Linked DNA regions of Homo sapiens: regions 2, 3, 4, 5 and 6 are each linked to region 1. The links are contacts of gene promoters, found by promoter capture Hi-C in blood cells and fetal thymus (Javierre and others, 2016). All regions are on one chromosome and are shown on one strand. Each heading gives the region's core, a stretch centred on a gene start or on the middle of the fragment in contact. The rest is flanking DNA. Distances are from core to core; before and after follow the strand shown. Region 1 holds the start of POP4 (POP4 ribonuclease P/MRP subunit). Region 2 holds the start of LSM14A (LSM14A mRNA processing body assembly factor). Region 3 holds the start of TRT-AGT1-3 (tRNA-Thr (anticodon AGT) 1-3). Region 4 holds the start of CEBPG (CCAAT enhancer binding protein gamma). Region 5 overlaps FAAP24 (FA core complex associated protein 24). Region 6 holds the start of ANKRD27 (ankyrin repeat domain 27).

Evidence for each region. Contacts are between HindIII fragments. The CHiCAGO score rates a contact against its expected background, and 5 or more counts as called.
Region 2: a contact is called between the fragment with the promoter of LSM14A here and the fragment with the promoter of POP4 in region 1, in 2 of 17 cell types (fetal thymus and monocytes). The highest score is 5.8, in fetal thymus.
Region 3: a contact is called between a fragment that was not itself captured here and the fragment with the promoter of POP4 in region 1, in 3 of 17 cell types (naive CD8 T cells, fetal thymus and naive CD4 T cells). The highest score is 6.6, in naive CD8 T cells.
Region 4: the fragment with the promoter of CEBPG here is called in contact with the fragment with the promoter of POP4 in region 1 in 1 of 17 cell types (non-activated CD4 T cells); the score reaches 6.0 in non-activated CD4 T cells.
Region 5: a fragment that was not itself captured here is called in contact with the fragment with the promoter of POP4 in region 1 in 1 of 17 cell types (fetal thymus); the score reaches 6.3 in fetal thymus.
Region 6: a contact is called between the fragment with the promoter of ANKRD27 here and the fragment with the promoter of POP4 in region 1, in 1 of 17 cell types (total B cells). The highest score is 7.7, in total B cells.

Annotation. Positions count from the first base shown.
Region 1 is chr19:29,604,652-29,607,571 of GRCh38, reverse strand. POP4 (POP4 ribonuclease P/MRP subunit) reads right to left here and starts at 1,289. Exons shown (of 7, transcript NM_006627.3): 1 at 1,247-1,289. The coding sequence starts at 1,253. RefSeq lists an enhancer at 1,147-1,636. The HindIII fragment of the contact is 1,017 bases long and covers 847-1,863 here.
Region 2 is chr19:34,171,248-34,174,484 of GRCh38, reverse strand. It overlaps LSM14A (LSM14A mRNA processing body assembly factor), which reads right to left and starts at 1,981. Exons shown (of 10, transcript NM_015578.4): 1 at 1,722-1,981. The coding sequence starts at 1,842. The HindIII fragment of the contact is 4,496 bases long and covers 1,041-3,237 here.
Region 3 is chr19:33,174,854-33,177,813 of GRCh38, reverse strand. It overlaps WDR88 (WD repeat domain 88), which reads right to left. Exons shown (of 11, transcript NM_173479.4): 11 at 2,015-2,418. The coding sequence ends at 2,242. It overlaps TRT-AGT1-3 (tRNA-Thr (anticodon AGT) 1-3), which reads right to left and starts at 757; the gene lies at 684-757. It overlaps LOC124904691 (a long non-coding RNA gene), which reads left to right and starts at 936. Exons shown (of 2, transcript XR_007067228.1): 1 at 936-2,960. RefSeq lists enhancers at 38-157, 168-227, 1,318-1,387, 1,100-1,864 and silencers at 398-757, 958-1,117. The HindIII fragment of the contact is 1,072 bases long and covers 901-1,972 here.
Region 4 is chr19:33,372,038-33,375,224 of GRCh38, reverse strand. It overlaps CEBPG (CCAAT enhancer binding protein gamma), which reads right to left and starts at 1,516. Exons shown (of 2, transcript NM_001806.4): 1 at 1,330-1,516. RefSeq lists a silencer at 920-1,729. The HindIII fragment of the contact is 8,186 bases long and covers 1-3,187 here.
Region 5 is chr19:32,973,903-32,976,728 of GRCh38, reverse strand. It overlaps FAAP24 (FA core complex associated protein 24), which reads right to left. Exons shown (of 5, transcript NM_152266.5): 4 at 2,517-2,669; 5 at 1-298. The coding sequence ends at 47. Among named protein-coding and RNA genes, the nearest start is that of FAAP24, 3.1 kb to the right of the region's middle. The HindIII fragment of the contact is 3,940 bases long and covers 1-2,826 here.
Region 6 is chr19:32,673,466-32,676,516 of GRCh38, reverse strand. ANKRD27 (ankyrin repeat domain 27) reads left to right here and starts at 1,337. Exons shown (of 29, transcript NM_032139.3): 1 at 1,337-1,446. It overlaps RGS9BP (regulator of G protein signaling 9 binding protein), which reads right to left and starts at 669. Exons shown (of 1, transcript NM_207391.3): 1 at 1-669. The coding sequence starts at 253. RefSeq lists enhancers at 1-22, 793-902, 790-1,409 and silencers at 423-482, 1,053-1,782, 1,803-1,852. The HindIII fragment of the contact is 4,511 bases long and covers 1-2,951 here.

The sequences.
Region 1 (2,920 bases), core at 40-2,539:
AGCTAGAAAATGTAATTTACACTATACTCTGTAAATTTAATTCCAGCTTTCTTGTACTTCCCTGAGAATGTTTGATGCAAGGTGGTTACAAGTTTTTTTTTTTTGTTGTTTGTTTGTTTGTTTTGATACTGGGTTTTGCTCTGTTGCCCTGGCTGGAGTGCAGTGGCACAATCATAGCTCACTGCAACTTCGACCTCCTGGTTTCAAGTGATCCTCCCACCTCAGTCTCCTGAGTAGCTGAGACTACAGGTGTGTGCCACCACACCTGGCTAATTCTTTTTTTTTTTTTCCAGTTTTTGTAGAGACAGGGTCTCGCTATGTTGTTGCCCAAGTTGGTCTTCAACTCTTGGCCTCAAGTGATCCCCCTGCCTCAGCCTCCCAAAGTGCTGGGACCACAGGCGTGTCCCACCACACCCAGCCAGGTATGTTTGTTTGATCAAGCAAACCAATGTGGTTGCAAGTTTTATATATAGCATCTAGTTCTCCCTCAAATGGAAGATGGGGATTATAAACTGTAGAGAGCAACTTGCGGGGCCTGATAACTTTGCTTCATCTGTTACAGGTGCTTAGTAACAGACTTGGAAGTCTTTCTGCAACAATACACATCTAACAATTACTGAACATCCATTACTTGCCAGAAACCTCATTACAAGGTACACATATTTTTTCTCATTACACTTATGTGCATGAGCAAACTGAAGCTCAGACATGCCGAGACAATCTACTTGATCATATAGGTAGAAAGTGGCAGAGATGAAAAATAAAAATTCTGATTGAAGGCCCAGTCTTAACGGTGTCTACACGCCCCTCCTTGGCACATGTCTTCTACCCCTAAGGACCAAAGCTTTGGGTTAGTGATATCATTCCCCAGCAGCTCTCGGCGCTTTGCATCAGGTTAAGAGTGTGAAACCAGCTCGCAGAAAGGAGCAGGATCTTGACCGCGGTCACCCCGGGAGATAGTGGCCAAGTTGAGCCAAGGCCTGGAACCCTCCTCTAGCATCGCACACCACTGAGCAGCCTCCGGGAGAACCTGCCTCCAGCCCTGACATCCCTCCCTAGCTCAGAGGTCGAGCCAGGCTAACCCGTGCTCCAGCCCTCAGTTTTTCTTAGGTAGGGTGGGCCCATTCCTGTAGCGGTTCTGTTAGGACTCCGCAGCAACAGGTAGCCCGGACCCATTTCACCCACCAGTACCAAGACCCCGACCCTTAACGTCCCCAACCCTCTCCAACTTCGCGGCCCCGCTTACTCTTCATTCTCGGACCGCTTCCGGCGCTCTCTGATGACGCACTGGCAGCTGCTGTCGCAGACTCTCGGAGCTCGGAGATGGCGCTATGCGTGACATCACCGGCGCTCGCCCACCTCGGGGGCGCATGCGCCTGGAAAGGGATTCGGCTACTGAGAACGTCGTAGGCGGTGTTGCTGAGCAGTGGGGAGGAGTGGGCTCGCTTCCTGGGGTCTTTTCCGCCTGCATCTTTTGGGGGACAGGCAGTAGGGTTGGGGTAAAGGCATGTGGAATGCTTGCTAAGGCCTGGAGTGGAGCGAGGCGAGGCGACTTGGAGAGGACTCGAAGGAGGTTGGGGATCTGGGAGGGCGGAAATGGGACGGGGACGGTGGGGTGAGGTCTTTGTCGTCCCTAATCAGCGCCCTTACGGATGAGCCGAGGCAGCTTCCGCTGTGAGCACGGGCACCGAAGCTGGGACAGCAGGCTTAGGTTCTAGTTCCGTGTCTGCTGCTAACTAGCTGTTTAACCTCGCTTAGGGCACTTCCCATCTGTAAGCCTCACTTGCAGTCTGTGCTGTGAGTGGGGTCGGCCTCACAGGTAGTGATGCGCCGCCTGGGTCCCTTTGATAGTTTCAGAAAGCTTTCTTGAGACTCAGAATATTTATTAGTTTTTATCAATAAAAAAATCATAGCAATAAGATCAAAGGTGGCTCACACCGTGGGAGGCGCAGGCGGGAGGATCTCTTGAGCCCAGGAGTTCGAGACCAGCCTGGGCAACATCGGGAGACCCCATCTCTACAAAACATTTAAAAAAAATTATCCAGGCGTGGTGGTGCGTGCTTGTAGTCCCAACTACTCGGGTATCTGAGGTGGGAGGATCAGTTGAGCCCAAGGAGTTTAGGGCTGCAGTGAACCTGGATTGCGCTACTGCACTCCAGCCTGGGTGACAGAGTGAGACCCTGTCTCCAAAATAAATAAATAAATTCCATATAAATAAATAAATGAATAAACAAACTCCATTGCTCAGTGGAAAGGTGCAGGAAGGCCTGGTGCAGACTTCTCAGCAGTGACCCAGTGTTGGGCAGAACTGTGGAGCCCCAATTTCTGCTGAGCACTGGGCCTGTGCTGGGTGGGAGAGAAAAGAAATACGGTCCCTTTATGCTAAGTCAGTGGTTCTCAACTTTGAGTACAGTATACATTTCTTTACAGGGGATTCTGGGAGTATGTCCAAAGGTTTTAGTTTGAGAAACATTGGCTTAAACAATTTCTTTGGTGGTGACCTTGTACCATTTTGATTTTAAACATTAGACTGCAGGCACTGAAATTGGTTCATCCCAGTGACCCCGCGTGCATTGACTTTATAAAATTTATGTATTAGTTTTTGCATATGTAGTACACTTATGCATTTATTTTATACGTATAAAATTTGGAAAGACCACATTTAAACCAAAACATGCTGCCTTTGCAGATGCCTGAAAATTGTAATTTATGGGACTGATAGAGAACTTTTATTATTTTTAAAATTAACCAATAAGAATTGTATGTATTTATGGTATACAATATGGTTTGAAATGTGTATACATTGTGTAATGGCTAAATGAGCTATGAGCGATGCTAATACACTCATTTTGTGATGAGAACACTTCAGACCTACTCTCAGTGAAATTCAGGTTATTAACTGAAATTCACTGTTATTAAC
Region 2 (3,237 bases), core at 732-3,231, 4.6 Mb before region 1:
CAAGGTGAAGAGGGAAATGTGGGGGTACTCCCTGGTTTTTCATACTACTTTTAAAATTAGACTTGGTGATTTTAAAAAGTGTATAATTCAATGATCTTCAGCAAATTTGCAGAGTTGTGCAACTATCACCATCTCATACTACTCCTTTATGGTGTACAGTTCTGTAACATCAAAAGGTTCCCTACCCAGGTATAAGATTTGTCCCAACACCAGGGCTATTAAAAAGATTTACCAGAGGCTGGGCGCGGTGGCTCATGCCTGTAATCCCAGCACTTTGGGTGGCCGAGGCGGGTGGATCACCTGAGGTCAGGAGTTCGAGACCAGCCTGGCCAACATGGTGAAACCCCGTCTCTACTAAAAATACCAAATTAGCTAGGGGTGGTGGCAGGCGCCTATAATCCCAGCTACTTGGGAGGCTGAGGCAGGAGAATCACTTGAACCCGGGAGGCGGACGTTGCAGTGAGCCGAAATCATTGCCTTTGCACTCCAGCCTGAGCAAAAAGAGCTAAACTCCATCTTAGAAAAATAAATAAATAAATAAATAAATAAAGGATTTACCAGAGCATCCAAGAAATATTATTAAATACTTGATCCCGTGAAACCACTCCCCTATCTGTTAACGATTTTTAAAATTTTACAGATTTCGAAAATCTTCTTCTTTATCCTTGGACCTAACCTATCCACAGGGTCCCTAACCATGCTATGCAGTTCCCACCTCTACCAGAAGTGCTGGGAAAATCACCTAGGTTATCTAGCTTCCCTCAAAGTATTTTACACTGTTGTGAGATTTCCTTTAAGATTCAGGAGCTAAAGTTTATTTTCTTTCTGGTTTCCTGGCGGAGCAAAGGCCCTGCACGTGTGAACGGAAACAAAACCCACACAGACTCTAGGGATGCCAAATATTAACACTGTGGGTAGGGGCACCTTCCTTCTCGGCCGAATTCCCTTTCCCAGAGAGCCTCCAGAGGGATCAGTCAACGCCCACTGAGCCTGGATCAAAGGTCAAGCTTGCCTGGTCAAGAAGGATCCTGGATCAAGCTTGAACCCGTTTCCAGAAACAGGGGCGTCGGGGCAGCAGCAAGCATTTTTACCACGCGCCCTAATGAGGTGGTTGCACAACAGGCTTTGAGGATTCCGGTTTAACAGGTAAATACCAACAGAGGATGAGCCGAGGGAGATGGGATCTGCTCCACGGCATCGATGGCATTTCGAGAATGTCTGCGTCGCAGAGCAAACCCAAAGTTTTAGCACATTACTCAAGAGTTCACCAGAGGAAGATCGCCACGAATTGAAATGAACAAAGTGAGAAAATGGGTGCTGTGTAGTCAACGCATCCGCGATGAACTCAAGCTGGGCGGAAAAATTCTTTGAATACTCCGGCTTTGTTTTGTGCTAAGACGGCAGAAGCCCCGAATTTCGGAGTTGGAAGACGCGTTTCTCCGTGTTCTCCGGCCCGTTCTCGGACTTCAGGGCCGCCCGCCGCGCACTCAGTCCCGTAGTTCCCCGGGCTTCAGGCGCGGACATTCCGGGGGGCGGAAACCAGGGAGCCGCGGGGAGGCCGCGGTCCGGCCCGCGACGCCGGGGCCCGGAGAAGGGAGGCGAGAGGCCTCCCGGAGCTCGACGGAGGGAGGGGAGGGAACGAGGAGGCCGCGGGCCGGAGCGGGGAGCAGCCCCGAGCGGCGCCCGGCTCGGCCCCCACCCTGAGGCCCGGTCCCGCGTACCTTTGGCAAGGGCTACGGTGGAGTTTTCGGTGTCGATGGTGTAGAGGATGCCCTCGTAGCGGATCTCCGCCTTGGAGATGAGGCTGATCTTGCTGCCGATGTAAGGGGTGCCCCCGCTCATGGCGCCGCCGCCGCCGCTCCCAGCTGCTCGCAGAGAGGCAGATCCCACGCCACTGTCGCCCGCTCCGCACGCCCGCTCGCTCCGTCGGCGCCTACAGCAGCCGCTTCAGACCCAACATGGCGGCGGCGCCGGCTCCGCTACCCTCCCCCAGCCTCCCGCCCTCAAGCCGCGGCGCGGCGGCGGCGGCGGCGGCGGCAGCGGCGGCGGCGCGGGGCATGCTGGGAGGGCGAGGCCGCGCTCTCGCGAGACTTGGCCGGCTACTGGTGGCTCCCGGCTCATTCGTGGCCTCGGGAGTCCCGGCAGCGCTTGTTGGCCTGGACTACGGTGGTGGTCTTGGGGCCGCGTGAGAGGAACTTCGGGGACCGGCTGAGTGCCTCGTGGCACCCGCTTGCTGCGGGCTGGAGAGGAGGCGCGCGGCCTTCCTTTTGACTCAGGCCGTGGCCGCCTTGTCGTGGGTCCTGTGTCTTTGCCGACGCGGGGCCCTCGGCCTGGAGCGCTGCCCACCCGCCTCCGAGCTGTGGCGAGCCGCTGCTCATCCTTCTAAGACGCTGAACCTGCACCTCGTGGAGCTCCTACGGCTCCATTACCGCAGTCATCGCCCGGGGAGCTTCCCCCGAGGCTGCCCCTGGAGCTGGGGCTCTCACAAGGACTCAAGTGTTTCAGCCCCTTCCTGTCCCGCTCATTCAGCCGGTCTGAACCAGTTTCATGGCTTGCAACGCCATTGTAACTCACTAATCCCAATTATCAGTATGTAGCTTGGATCAATTCCGTGAACCAGGGTTTCTGTCGAATCTCAAACGTTAAGGGTCCAAAGCCATGCTCCCTGTTTCCCCTCTAACCTGCTCCTTCACCACCGTTCCCTATTTGATGTAAACGGTACCATTTTTACTCAGCTGCTCAGACTAAAAGCCGTGAGTCAGCCTTGCCCTGTCTTGCTTCCACATCTGTTCTGACTACACCTCTCCGTTATGTATACACAATATATCCTAAATCTGACTTCTCATCTCCATTCCTACACTTCTCCCACAAGCCACGATTACTCGGGCTGAATTATTGCAGTAGCCTTCTAAAAGTTGCCTCTGTGTCAACTCTTGCCCCCAGTACTTTATTCTCAATACAGCAGCCAGAGAGATCTTCTTAAAATCTAACTCAGGGCTGGGCGCAGTGGCTCACGCCTGTACTCCCAGTACTTTGGGGGCCCGAGGCGGGCGCATCACCGGTCAGGAGTTCGAGACCAGCCTGGCCAACATGGTGAAACCCCGTCTCTACTAAAAATATAAAAAAATTAGCCAGGCGTGGTGGCGCGCGCCTATAGTCTCAGCTACTTGGGAGGCTGAGGCAGGAGAATTGCTTGAACCCAGGAGGCGGAGGTTGTGGTGAGCCGAGATTGTGCCA
Region 3 (2,960 bases), core at 187-2,686, 3.6 Mb before region 1:
ACACCCGGCCGTCTGCAGCTGGGGCAGAGTCCCCTGCCTGGCCTGGAGTTTCCACGCAGTCATCGGACTGAGGATCACGCTAACCGGACTCAGTCCCGCATCCCTCCACACGGGGTCCCCTTGGCCTCGCCGCCGGTCCAGGTCTTGCATTTGTGAAAAGGCTGCACCCACTGCGCGGCTGCAGGGAGACGGGCAATCTTCAGGCCTTTGCGAGGCTCAGCTAAGCCCGGCGAACGTCGAGGATCGGCACCCGCGTGGGCTCCCCCAAGTGGCAGCTTGGAGCCAGGAAGACTAGCGCGAGGAACCCACGCCACAGAAGGCGGCGTGGGAGAGCGCGTCCACCGCCCGCCCTGAGGAAGCAGCCTCGGGGCGAACACCGGCTCCTCGCTGGACTCGCACAGCTGCTTCCCAGCCCGCCGCTCGCCTCCCACGGCCAGCCAGCACCATGGCAACCGCGGTCGCCTGGGTCCCCGCGCCGCCTACGCCCCACAGAGCCTGAGACCCGAGAAGGTGGAGTCCGAAGCCCGCCTGCACCCGCCCCCGTGGCCGAGGCCACGCCCCGTTGGGGGGCCCGTCTACCTAGGCCTCTCGGGATCCCGCTCACACCCTCATAGTATCGGGCAGCCGGGTACAGAGCACAAAAGTGCAGGAGCAAAAATGGAAAGAGCTTGGACGCTCGGTTGAGGCACCGCTGGGATTCGAACCCAGGATCTCCTGTTTACTAGACAGGCGCTTTAACCAACTAAGCCACGGCGCCACCCGTACAGGTACTTTCCTAAACTATTCTTCATTACTATTTACCATATGGGCCGCGCGCATGCGCACACATTCGGCCTGTTGTGGCGCACGCGTAGTGTAGCTTCCGATTCACACAGGCAGCTGAGACTGAGACCGGAAGCTTGGGCTGCACGGAGCGGGCGGAGCCTGGGAAGGCCAGACTTCCTGGTCACGGTAATGTCTCTTCCAACGTGGAGCCAGGACGCTCCGCCTTTGGGGAACGCTGGTGCAGGGCTTGGGACTCAGGGCAGTGCGGTCGAGCCCCTACCCACTCCGGAGAACCCCCGGCCCCGCCAGCGCGGCCGGGCTGCTGGCTCCCCTGGCGTCCGGTCGAGGCGCACACCCGCCTCGGTCCGACTGTGACCCCGGTGAGCTTCGGACCATTCTGCCCCGCGACCTCAGCCTGAGAAGACCCGGGGCCCTGCCAGCTCCCGGGACTATAACTTCAGTTGAGTCGCTACTTCCGCGGATCCTGAGCTGGGGGAAAGTCGAGGGGTCCGGAAGGCTCAGGAGGGATCGTGGACTTCAGGGTTCCCAGGCTGCTGGCGTGGAGCACCAACACCTTACATGGAGGGGTTTCTGCTGCCAGAGCAGGCAAGGCCCTCCCCTCCCTAGTTTCTCACTGACCCCTTCTGGGTGTCCTCACGCAACTACACCAGCCACTGGTCTCCGCACTTTCCAGAGGGCCTGTGGGCAACTACGAAGCCGAACACTGCCAACCCATCCACCCAGCATCCCTGCAGCATGCACAGAAAGGTTCACCCAGCATGGTGTGCAATAGGAAACTAAGCTCCTATCTCAGCCTATTTCTGGATTGATGCACGCTGTGCAAAATGCCGTGGCAGCAGGAAGAGGGCTGCACATAAGCAAGGGGTTCTGGAAATTAAGACGTCTAGAGGAGAAAGCGTGAGACATCCCGTGATGGCAATGCCACCGCCACCCCCTTGCCTAACCAAACCGTCCTCTGCTCCGGGCAAGTGGCCATCTGGGAGCATTAGCCAGGGAGGCACTCATTGTGTCTTGCCATCACGTCCACAGAGGGGGCCCCACACCTTGTCATACTCATTTGACAAACTCTCCAGAACTGCTGGTGCCAGCCCCCACAGGTCACCTTACAGGGCAACTCCAGACTCCACAATGTGAGTCTAATATGTGTTCCAAGAATCAAACAGGATGAGCACCAAGACATAAAGCTTAGAAATAGCAAGACTGCTTTTCAGATGCACATGCACGCTTGTTTTCCAAAGGAATTAGATTTATTCTGCATGAAAACGGAAAGTGTTCACTCCCCAAGCTGAGAGCTGAGGAGGTGGCACTGTGCTGAGTCCAGCCAGGGCTTGGGTCCTGCCCCAGTCTGACAGGCCTGCTGAGCCTGGGAGGGGCCCAAGAGAAAGCCCCTGCAAAGCCCCGAAACCTACATGCTAGGTAGCCTGTGCTGGAGTCACTCAAAGGGGCCTGTGGCTGTCAGTCATCCTTGCTTCCCCTTGGCGGCGGTGAGTTCTCCCTTTCCGATGATGATGATGACGATGAAGTATCTGCTGGCAAGCCCCTTGTATCTATCCGGCAGAACACGCATTGGGTGAACATTTCAGAAGAGGTGTCACTCTTGAAGATGGAGAAAGGCCTGTCACATCTTTCGCACTGACATGGGATATTTTAAAAGAGCAGAAAGGAGGTGCTGGTCAGAGGTGATCCAGGCATGCCATTAGAATTCTCCCAGCTACCTTGAGCTGGGGCAAGGCAAGGGTTCCCCTCTCTGGAATCTCTTTTTGGTTTGTTTGTTTGTTTTTGTTTTTGTTTTTGAGACAGAGTCTCACTTTGTTGCCCAGGCTGGAGTGCAGTGGCACCATCTAGGCTTACTGCAACCTCCGCCTCCCAGGTTCAAGCAATTCTCCTGCCTCAGCCACCCGAGTAGCTGGGATTACAGGCGTGCACCACCACATCCTGCTAATTTTTGTATTTTTAGTAGAGATGGGGTTTCTCCATGTTGGCCAGGCTGGTCTTGAACTCCTGGCCTCAAGTGATCCACCCACCTTGGCAGCCCAGAGTGCTGGGATTACAGGCGTGAGCCACTGGGCGCAGCCCCTCTCTGGAATCTCTAACCCCACAAAGGCGGAAATTGCAGAGAGAATGAGCACAGGCTGCTTCCCCACCAATGGCTAAGCAGGTCCTGCCAGCTCATG
Region 4 (3,187 bases), core at 267-2,766, 3.8 Mb before region 1:
ATGTGATCTTGAGAATTTAAAGGATATTCTCAATGAAGTTTTGTTTCCATCTACTTTTTTTAAAAGCAGGTATTAAAAATAACTGAACCAGCCAAGTGTGCCCACCAAAAGCAGGAATCAAGAAGCTGAAATATGCTTCAGCTCCCTTGTACCCTGTAATTATTTAGCCTTGTTTACAGCAACTTTTTCCAGAAGCAGAATCGACCTTATGAACAGCTTATCCCAAATACTACTCAAGGGCTAACAGATGACCACATCTTAAATATCAAGAGCTTCTAGGTGTAGAATGTCTTCGTAAAGCAAGCCCTTATAGGATTTTCTTTTAAAATTTTCTCTGGGAGTCACATTTCTTTGGGAGAAGTCTGCCTTAAGTGACAACCTATTCATATAAGCAGTCAATTCTGACACAACTACCAATTTTGGTGTCACCCATCAACATTGAGACCTTTCTAAATCTTATACATTTCAGGATGCCAGATTACAGTATAAACTTCAAACAAGAGGAAAACCCAACACGTAAACCTGCGGAAGAGAAGCAACACACCAGCTGCCCTGGAAAACACTCTCCTCCCCCCGCGACACATGCATTTCCATCCTTCGCATCTGGTCACCTCCGCTGGCTGTCGGCCCTGCTCCGCTCCCTCCAACTATGCCTGCGAAGTGCTTCATTTCTTCTCTATTCGACCCGTAGGTGTTGCGTGTTCTTCTAAACTACGTTCAACAGTAAAGTGCAGGACATTCCAACAGCTCCACAAAGAAGCAAAATATTATCTCTGCAAAGTCATGCATTTAAAAACCAGTTGCTTTCCCTATTTTATTGATCAGTCTTTGAACTTCTGAACAGATTTTCGATCACCGCAAGCTGAGCCCTTCTAGAAGATCAGGATTCTAAAGCTCGACTCGGTCCACCTTCTGCTATTCTGGGAACACCCTTCATCCCCAGGGGCCAATGCGAGCCTGGCGGGTCACAGCGCCCGTTTCACCGAGAGGGGGCCGGGCTCCGCAGGGGGCATTCCCCGGCCGTTCGCGCGCTCCCGGCCCGCCGCGAGGGGCGCCCCGGGCAGCGCGGGGGTCGACGGGCGGCGCCGCAGCGCTGGGCCGCGGCCAGGAATGAGCTCAGCGTCCCCGCCGGGTGTTGCCGGCAGGTTGCATCAGACGCCGCGCGGCGCCGCCGCCCGCGCCTCCAGCCTCGCGTGGCCTTCCCGGGCCAGCGGGCCGTCTGGGGCCGGGGCTGGGTTTCCCCGAGCCGGGCCCGCACCCAGTCGAGCGGCCGGCGTCGCCGCGGCCTCCTCCTCCCCGTTCTCAGGGCGCCCGCCGCAGCCTCCTTACCTGCTCCTCTAGCCCGCCTGCCCCCAGGCGGCCTCCACTCCGAGCGGCCCCGCGCGGTGCGGCCCGAGCCGACCCAGGCCTCACAGCCCGCGAGTCAGCGAGGAGGAGCGACGGTTACGAAACCGGCAGCCTCCGCCCGTTCCGCAGCCGCGGCCACCGGCTTCCCCTGCTCGCCGGGGCCGCGCGCGCCGCCGCCGCCATCCCGGCCAATGGGAGCGCCGGCCTGCCGGAGGCACCGCCTTCTCTCGCGACGGGCAGCCCAGTCGACCAATCGTGGGCAGGCTGGCGGCGGGAGGCGGGCCCACGGTGGGGGAGTGGGTTCCGCGCGGCTGGCTCGGCGGGTGTGGCGGGAGCAGGGAGCTGCTTGCTGCGGCGTCCGCGGTCCCTAGGCAGCTCGCCCGGGCTGGCGGCGGCCTAGTGCTGTGGACGACTCAAGTTCGAGTCGGAGGCTGAAAAGCCGTCACCTTGTGGAGGCCAGACGTGCCTTTGGAAGCATTTTCTGAGGTGGTTTTGTGAACCACCGGCGACTGTTTTGGTTTCGCCGCGTCCCTTGGAAGCCCCCGCGGCGTCCCTCACAGAGTTTCTGCGAACGGAACGCCCCGCAGGCGGGCGGGCTTTGTCGCCGCAAAAAGAGTGGAGGCTGACGCGGTGGCTCCCGCCTATAATCTCAGCGCCGAGGGAGGCCGAGGCGGGAGAATGGCTTGAGCCCAGGCGTTGGAGAACCAGCCTGGACAACATAGCGAGACCCCATCTCAGTTACTAATTTTTAAAAAATCGAATGAACCCAGATGTTTCACACATAGGATTAGCATTGATGTCACATGGGTGAAATCCATGTGCTGCAGGCTGTGCTTTGTTGTTAGGGTGAGATGAAGTGAATTTCTTAAAATGATTCTCTTTGGGTGCCTTCCAGGTGCATGGGTGCGAGGTGATCTCTGAAAATAAGCAGCGATCCAGTGTGACTTAAAACTCGCCAGGAGAACCCGAAAGCGTTTTTTTTTTTTTTTTTTTTGAGACGGAGTCTCGCTCTGTCGCCCAGGCTGGAGTGCAGTGGCGCAATCTCGGCTCACTGCAAGCTCCGCCTCCCGGGTTCACGCCATTCTCCTGCCTCAGCCTCCCAAGTAGCTGGGACTACAGGCGCCCGCCACTACGCCCGGCTAATTTTTTGTATTTTTTTAGTAGAGACGGGGTTTCACCGTTTTAGCCGGGATGGTCTCGATCTTCTGACCTCGTGATCCGCCCGCCTCGGCCTCCCAAAGTGCTGGGATTACAGGCGTGAGCCACCGCGCCTGGCCCCGAAAGCGTTTTAACACCAGGAAGCAGCAGCTCGCTGGGCGGAGGGCAGAACTCGCCTGATAGGTTTAATTGCTTCCTCTTTAGCAACGCGTATCGTTCAAACAATTGAGGCTTTGAAAGAGGAAATGTTTCTTCAGCGCCCATGGAACCGGCTCGCCCCGTAAGATTGTTTCGAGGAATCAGTAAGATGATAAAGCAATAAATAAAAATTAAAAGGGGTCACAACGGTGAACAATGGGCTGGGCGCGGTGGCTCAGGTCTGTAATCCCAGCACTCTGCGAGGCCGAGGCAGGCTGATCACTTCAGGTCGGGAATTAGAGACCAGCCTGGGCAACATGGAAAAACCCCATCTCTACCAAAAATACAGAAGATTAGCCGGGTGTGGTGGCGCTGTGCCTGTGGTCCCAGCTACTCTGGAGTCTGAGATGGGAGGATGGCTTGAGCCTGAGAGGCGGAGGTTGCAGTGAGCTGAGATTGAGCCACTGCACTCCAGCCTGAGCCACAGAATGAGATCCCTGTCTCCAAAAAAAAAAAAACAGGTAATAATGCTCACAGATGCACA
Region 5 (2,826 bases), core at 120-2,619, 3.4 Mb before region 1:
GTGTTTGTGGTCTCAGGAGAAGATGCCGTGGCCCTGAGGCCAGCCCTCACCTGGGCTGCGTGAAGAAGGCATGGATCTGCTGTGCCACTGCTTGTCCGACCACCTGCTCCAGTTCCCCAATGGAAGCATTACTCAGTTGCTGGATGCTTGGAAACTTCTGGAGGAGAAGGGGAGCTTTAACTTTTCCAACTCCTGGGATCTGCTGCACGGTTCGAAGGAGCGAAGGCTCAGACAGCAGCAGGGCCCGTTTCTTCCCGAGAAGAGGGTTCTTACTGGGCTCTTTGGTTTGCTCTTGAACCTGAACCACAATGAAAGCAACAGCACGTGAGCGCCCTCTGGAGGACTGGCCGTTTTCTTAAAATATGTTTTGTAGAAATTGCGTTTTTCCATTTGGCTCAGCTTGACTTAAGGGAACAAATGTTTTCATGTATCATGAATATAATTTCTCAGACATCAGTAAAATTATTGAAAGGTGAACCACACAAAGGAGTTAAGACATTAATTTACAAAAATGTGCGTTTTCAGAATGTTTAGAAAAACACACAGATGAATTCAAACACTTTCTGTTGGTCCATTAAGAAACATTTCAGTTGTGCAGGATTAAATGATGGCTACACCTAAACTAGGCCTACTTCACGCAGGAGCTGCAGGAAGCCTGCCTCAAAGGAGAAACCTGGTCTAGTTAGTGGTGGTTATACTAAGGCAGACAACAGTGTTATATCAAGGAAAGTTAGGAACGGTGACGCAAGGGATATAGTAGAGAGGGATCTGTGAACCATTCATGGCTGCTTGCATCTTCAATGTGGCTCTCAACTCTAGCTCCACATCAGAGGGGGTGATTTAAAAACAACACACACATAACAAAGAAAACAAAAGTGAAAAAAACAAACAACACACACACACAATTGATGTTCCCCATGCTGGGATCAGAGGCGTAAGCTACTAAACTGATTTTAAAAATAAGTGTTGGCGGCCGGGCGCGATGGCTCACGACTGTAATCCCAGCACTTTGGGAGGCTGAGGCGGGCACAACACCTGAGGTCGGGAGTTCGAGACCAGCCTGACCAACATGGAGAAACCCCGTCTTTACTAAGAATACAAATTAGCTGGGCGTGGTGGCGGGCACCTGTAATTCCAGCTACTCGGGAGGCTGAGGCAGGAGAATCACTTGAACTCAGGAGGAGGAGGTTGCAGTGAGCCGAGACTGCATCATTGCACTCCAACCTGAGCAACAAGAGCGAAACTCCATCTCAAAAAAAAAAAAAAAAGTGTTGGTTGGTGCGGTGGCCCAGAACTTTGGGAGGCTGAGGCAGGCAGATCACCTGAGGTCAGGAGTTTGAGACTAGCCTGGCCAACATGGTGAAACTCTTATCTCTACTAAAAATACAAAAATTAGCCGGGCATGGTGGTGGGTGCCTGTAATCCCAGGTACTAGGGAGGCTGAGGCAGGAGAATCGCTTGAACCCAGGAGGCAAAGGTTGCAGTAAGCCAAGATTGCACCACTGCACTCCAGCTGGAATGACAGAGCAAGACCCTATCTAAAAAAAAAAAAAAACTGCCCAGGCATGGTGGCTCACACCTGTAATCCCAGCACTTTGGGAGGCCAAGGTGGGCGGATCATGAGGTCAGGAGTTTGAGACCAGCCTGGCCAATATGGTGAAACCCTGTCTACTAAAAATACAAAAATTAGCCGGGTGTGGTGGTGCGTGCCTGTAGTCCCAGCTACTCGGGAGGCTGAGGCAGAAGAATGGCTTGAACCCGGGAGGTGGAGATGGCAGTGAGCCAAGATTGTACCACTGCACTCTGGCCTGTAGGACAGAGCGAGACTCCGCCTCAAAAAAAAGGGAAAAAAAAAAAACTTGCACAAGGTGCTGATGCTTAACAAAAATACGGGATGAGACAAAGCAGCTTCTAGTTAACATTTTCTTTCTTTCTTTCTTTTTTTGAGACAAAGTTTCGCTCCTGTTGCTCAGGCTGGAGTGCAATGGAGCATCTCCACTCACTGCAACCTCCACCTCCTCAGTTCAGGTGATTCTCCTGCCTCAGCCTCCGGAGTAGCTGGGATTACATGCACCCACCACCACGCCCAGCTAATTTTTGTATTTTTAGTAGAGACAGGGTTTTGCCATGTTGGCCAGGCTGGTCTCGAACTGCTGGCCTCAAGTGATCCTCCCGCCTCCGCCTCCCAAAGTGCTGGGATTACAAGCATGAGCCATCACGCCTGGCCTCTAGGTTGACGTTTTCACCAGCGAAAGGGCAGGATAATGACTGATGGAGCCATCACACCCTGAGAATCTAAAATCAGGTCTCCAACTTGTATACTTTGTGATACACTTGCCTGGAGTGTGTGACAAGCTGAGCTGGCTGCAGAGGCAGCTTCCGCATTTAAATTCCTCGAAGAGATTTTATAAACCAAGTCAGAGAATGACATAGATTGGATTGATGGTTGCTTCTGGAGAGCAGCTGAGTGTCCATGAGGACAGGACTACCACGAAGGTGTAGGAATCGGTACTCACCAACTGGATGACGAGGCAGGATGCTTCCATCTGGCTGGCCACTGGAAGCAGCACCATTCCAAGGTCCAGCACAGTAAACTTCTGTAGGGCTGGGAAGTATTGTTCACTCATCCGGGTTTTTTCAACGACTACAATTCCTTTAAGATTATTGGACTTGAAAGGAAAAAAGACAGTAAGTCATTTTGCAACCAAATTGCTTTTCAGGTTAAGAATGCTATCACTTCGTGCCTGACCTGGCCAATGATTTTAAATAAATGATACCAAGGGATGGAGGGAAGGGTGGGGTGAGACAAATCAATGTTCGAGTTTC
Region 6 (3,051 bases), core at 88-2,587, 3.1 Mb before region 1:
AGCCCGAGAAGGCCACCCAGAGCCGCTCGAACTCGGCGCGCTCGTCGGCGGCCAGGCCCCGGTCGCGCAGCACAGCAGTCAGCCGGGCGCAGGTGGACACCGCCAGCTCCTGCGCCTTCTGGCGCGTCTTTTGCAGCTCCTGCCGCAGGTTCTGCGAGTCCGCCGAGCCACCGACGGTCAGCACCAGGTGGTGGTAGCACGCAGTCGTCTTGTTGAGCCCGTCCAGCAGCGCCTTGCACTCCTCCCTCGCCATCGCGGTGGGCTCCGGCTGGGCCCGGCCGCCCGCGCCCGTTAGCCTCCCCCTCAGCGCGGCAGGATGTGGCTAACCCCCATCCCGGCCTTGGGCCGCGCGGCACGAACGCTCTTCATGGTCCGTGACTCGCTCGGCGCTACCGCCAACGTCCACGGAGCCCGCCCGGGACCCTCGACGTGCGCCTCTGCGGACGGGGCGCGCAGAGGGAGCCCCGTTAGCGGTCCCCCGCTCCCTCGTCCATCCTCCCCAGGCGCACTCCGAGTCACACGTCGTGTCTCTGCACCGCCCTGGCCTCCACGGTGGCTCCCTGCGAAGCTGAGGGTGCGGTCCCCATCCTCCGTGGGTGCCAACTCCGGGGCAAGCAGGCTGCAGAGCCGCGCGCTCCGCCTTAGGCGCTGCCAAGGGCGGCCGGGTAGGGTTTCCTAGGACCCGCCCACCCCGCTCGTCCCGGCCGGAGCTGCCACCCCCTGGATCAGTGGTAGGCGGGGCTCCACGCGGGGAGGTCACGTGTGGGTGGCCCATCCCTCCCTCCCCTTCGCCCCATCCGAGTTCTGGAATGTTAGCGCTCGGGAGATCCAACCCGTTCTATTTTACGGATGGGGAAACTGAGGCCCAGGTAAAAAGCGGGCCAGGCTCCCGCGGAGTTTTTGCCTGTGATGGGACTAGAACCCAGCTATACTGACTCCCGGACCCTGTCGGCGACAGGACGTCGGGTGCCCCGCAGGACTGGGCACCTCCGTGCCCCAAAGCGAGCAGTGACTGGCAATCCGAGGGGCTGGGCGCCGCCGGGGTCAGGTGTCCCTGCCGCGTTGCGCTCACGTTGGTCGGTGCTTCCAAGCGCTAACCCCACCTCTAGTGTCAGCCCGGCTCCCAGCCCCGCCCCTCACGTTCTGGGCACGCGCAGTTGCGGGCGTGGGGCGGGGCCAGCTGGAGTAGGAAGCGTAGGGAGCCGCCTGAGCCCCGCCCCCGGCTGGGCTGGACTCCATGATTGCTCTGCGTACACGTCACTCTGGGAAACGACGGTTTCTCATTGGGTCAGCTGTGGCGCGGCTCCGCCCCACGGCGGAGTAAGGGGTGGGCTATAGGGCCAGATCGCCGCGCGAGGGTGGTGGGCATCGAGGTCCCAGCAGCGGACGAGGGAGGTGCCGCCGTCGCCCAGGATGGGCTGGGAATGAAGCGATGTAGCCTTTTAAGTAAGTGTCCTCGCGCTGGCCTCCTCCTGCGCCTCCCCTCCCGCGGGATGGCTGCGCCTCGGGGCGCGGCGGCCGGGCGGGGCCCGGAGAGTGAGGGGGGAGGGGCTCCCTGCTCTCCGGAGTCCGCTCCCGGGTCCGCCAGGTGGCCCCGCGCCGCCCCAGCCCCCGCGTCCCCAGGTGGGTGCCCGGTGCGCAGCCGGCGCGCCCTGCCCACTCCGCCCCTCGGGTCTGGAGGAGGGGAGCGGTCGGCGCGGAGAATGCACCCTCCGAGCCTCGCTGCGTCGACACCGGCGGGTGTGGCCGGGGTGCCGGGTCCGGCGGTTCGGATCTGGCGGGGCGCGGGGCGGTCGCCGCGCGGTTTCCCGGAGGCCTAGGGTCTGCTGGAGGGGAGCGGCGGGTGGGGGTCCGAGCCGCGCGCGCAGCGGTTGTGGTTTCCGGGGGGTGATGAGGGCGCGGAGCGGGGAATCCCTGGCTGCCGGCCTCTCGCAGGGCGGGGGGGTCTCTGCATTCCCACAGGTAAAGATTGTTAAAGGAAAACTCTTAAGCACCGAGAGATGTTCCGGATTCTGAGTCTGTTCCGTCTTGTGGTTGAAAATGGACTGCCCAGGAGCACACGAGCCACGCGGTGCCCCCTTGGCTGCCCCACGAGGTGCAGGGGACGTGGGCACTCGCGGCCTGTGCTGGGCGAGGGAGCAAGGGACGGGTCTTCGCTGAGGATTTAGAGCATGCAGGGAACGAGGGCTGCTGGCAGTGCTGGAGGGACTGTGAGGCTGCAGAGAGCTCAGATTTTACAAGTTGATGGGTTTCATGGATAGAGGCCCCTATTTTGATTAAAAAATGCACTCTTCCCACTGGCCGAAGAGTAGAGCAGTGGATATTTTTTTTCTTTTCTTTCTTTTCGTTTTTTTCTTTTTGAGACAGGGTCTGGCTCTGTTGGCTAGTCTGGAGTGCAGTGATGCCATCATAGCTCATTGCAGCCTCAAACTCCTGGACTCAAGCAATCCTTTCACCTCAGCCTCTGTAGTAGCTGGGACTACAGGCGCATGCCACTATGCACGGCTAATTTTTAATTTTTTTTTTTTTTTTTTGTAGAGATGGAGTCTAGCAGGTTGCCTAGGCTGGTCTTGAACTCCTGGACTCAAGCCATGCTCTCGTCTTGGCCTCCCAAGGTGTTGGGATTACAGGCACTAGCCACCACGTTTTGCTGAGCAGTAGCTGTTACGTTTCGAGATCAGCCTGGCATGAGGACTGGTGTTGAGGTGGCCTAAGGGTCCGGTGTACTGAGCCCCGGGGCCTGCTGTCACCCAGGGGTCCGTCCTTTAACTGGGTGAGCAGTAGGCTGGGTGTTTGCTGCCAGGGCTTGGGTACTCCTGGCCTTGACCATTGTGTGGAAGGGGGGTTCTCAGCCACCCACACGCTACATAGGGTCGTTCCCAGGGGGATAGTAGTTTTCAGGACAAAATGGGTGGAAAGAGGGAAAATACTCTTTCCCTTCGGGGGAAGCTTTGGAGACAGCAGAGGGTGAGGAAGCTGCAAAGGTGGCCAGAGGCCAGATGTGCCAGGTCCTGAGCACCTAGCAGAGAAGTTGAGGGCTCACCTGGTGGG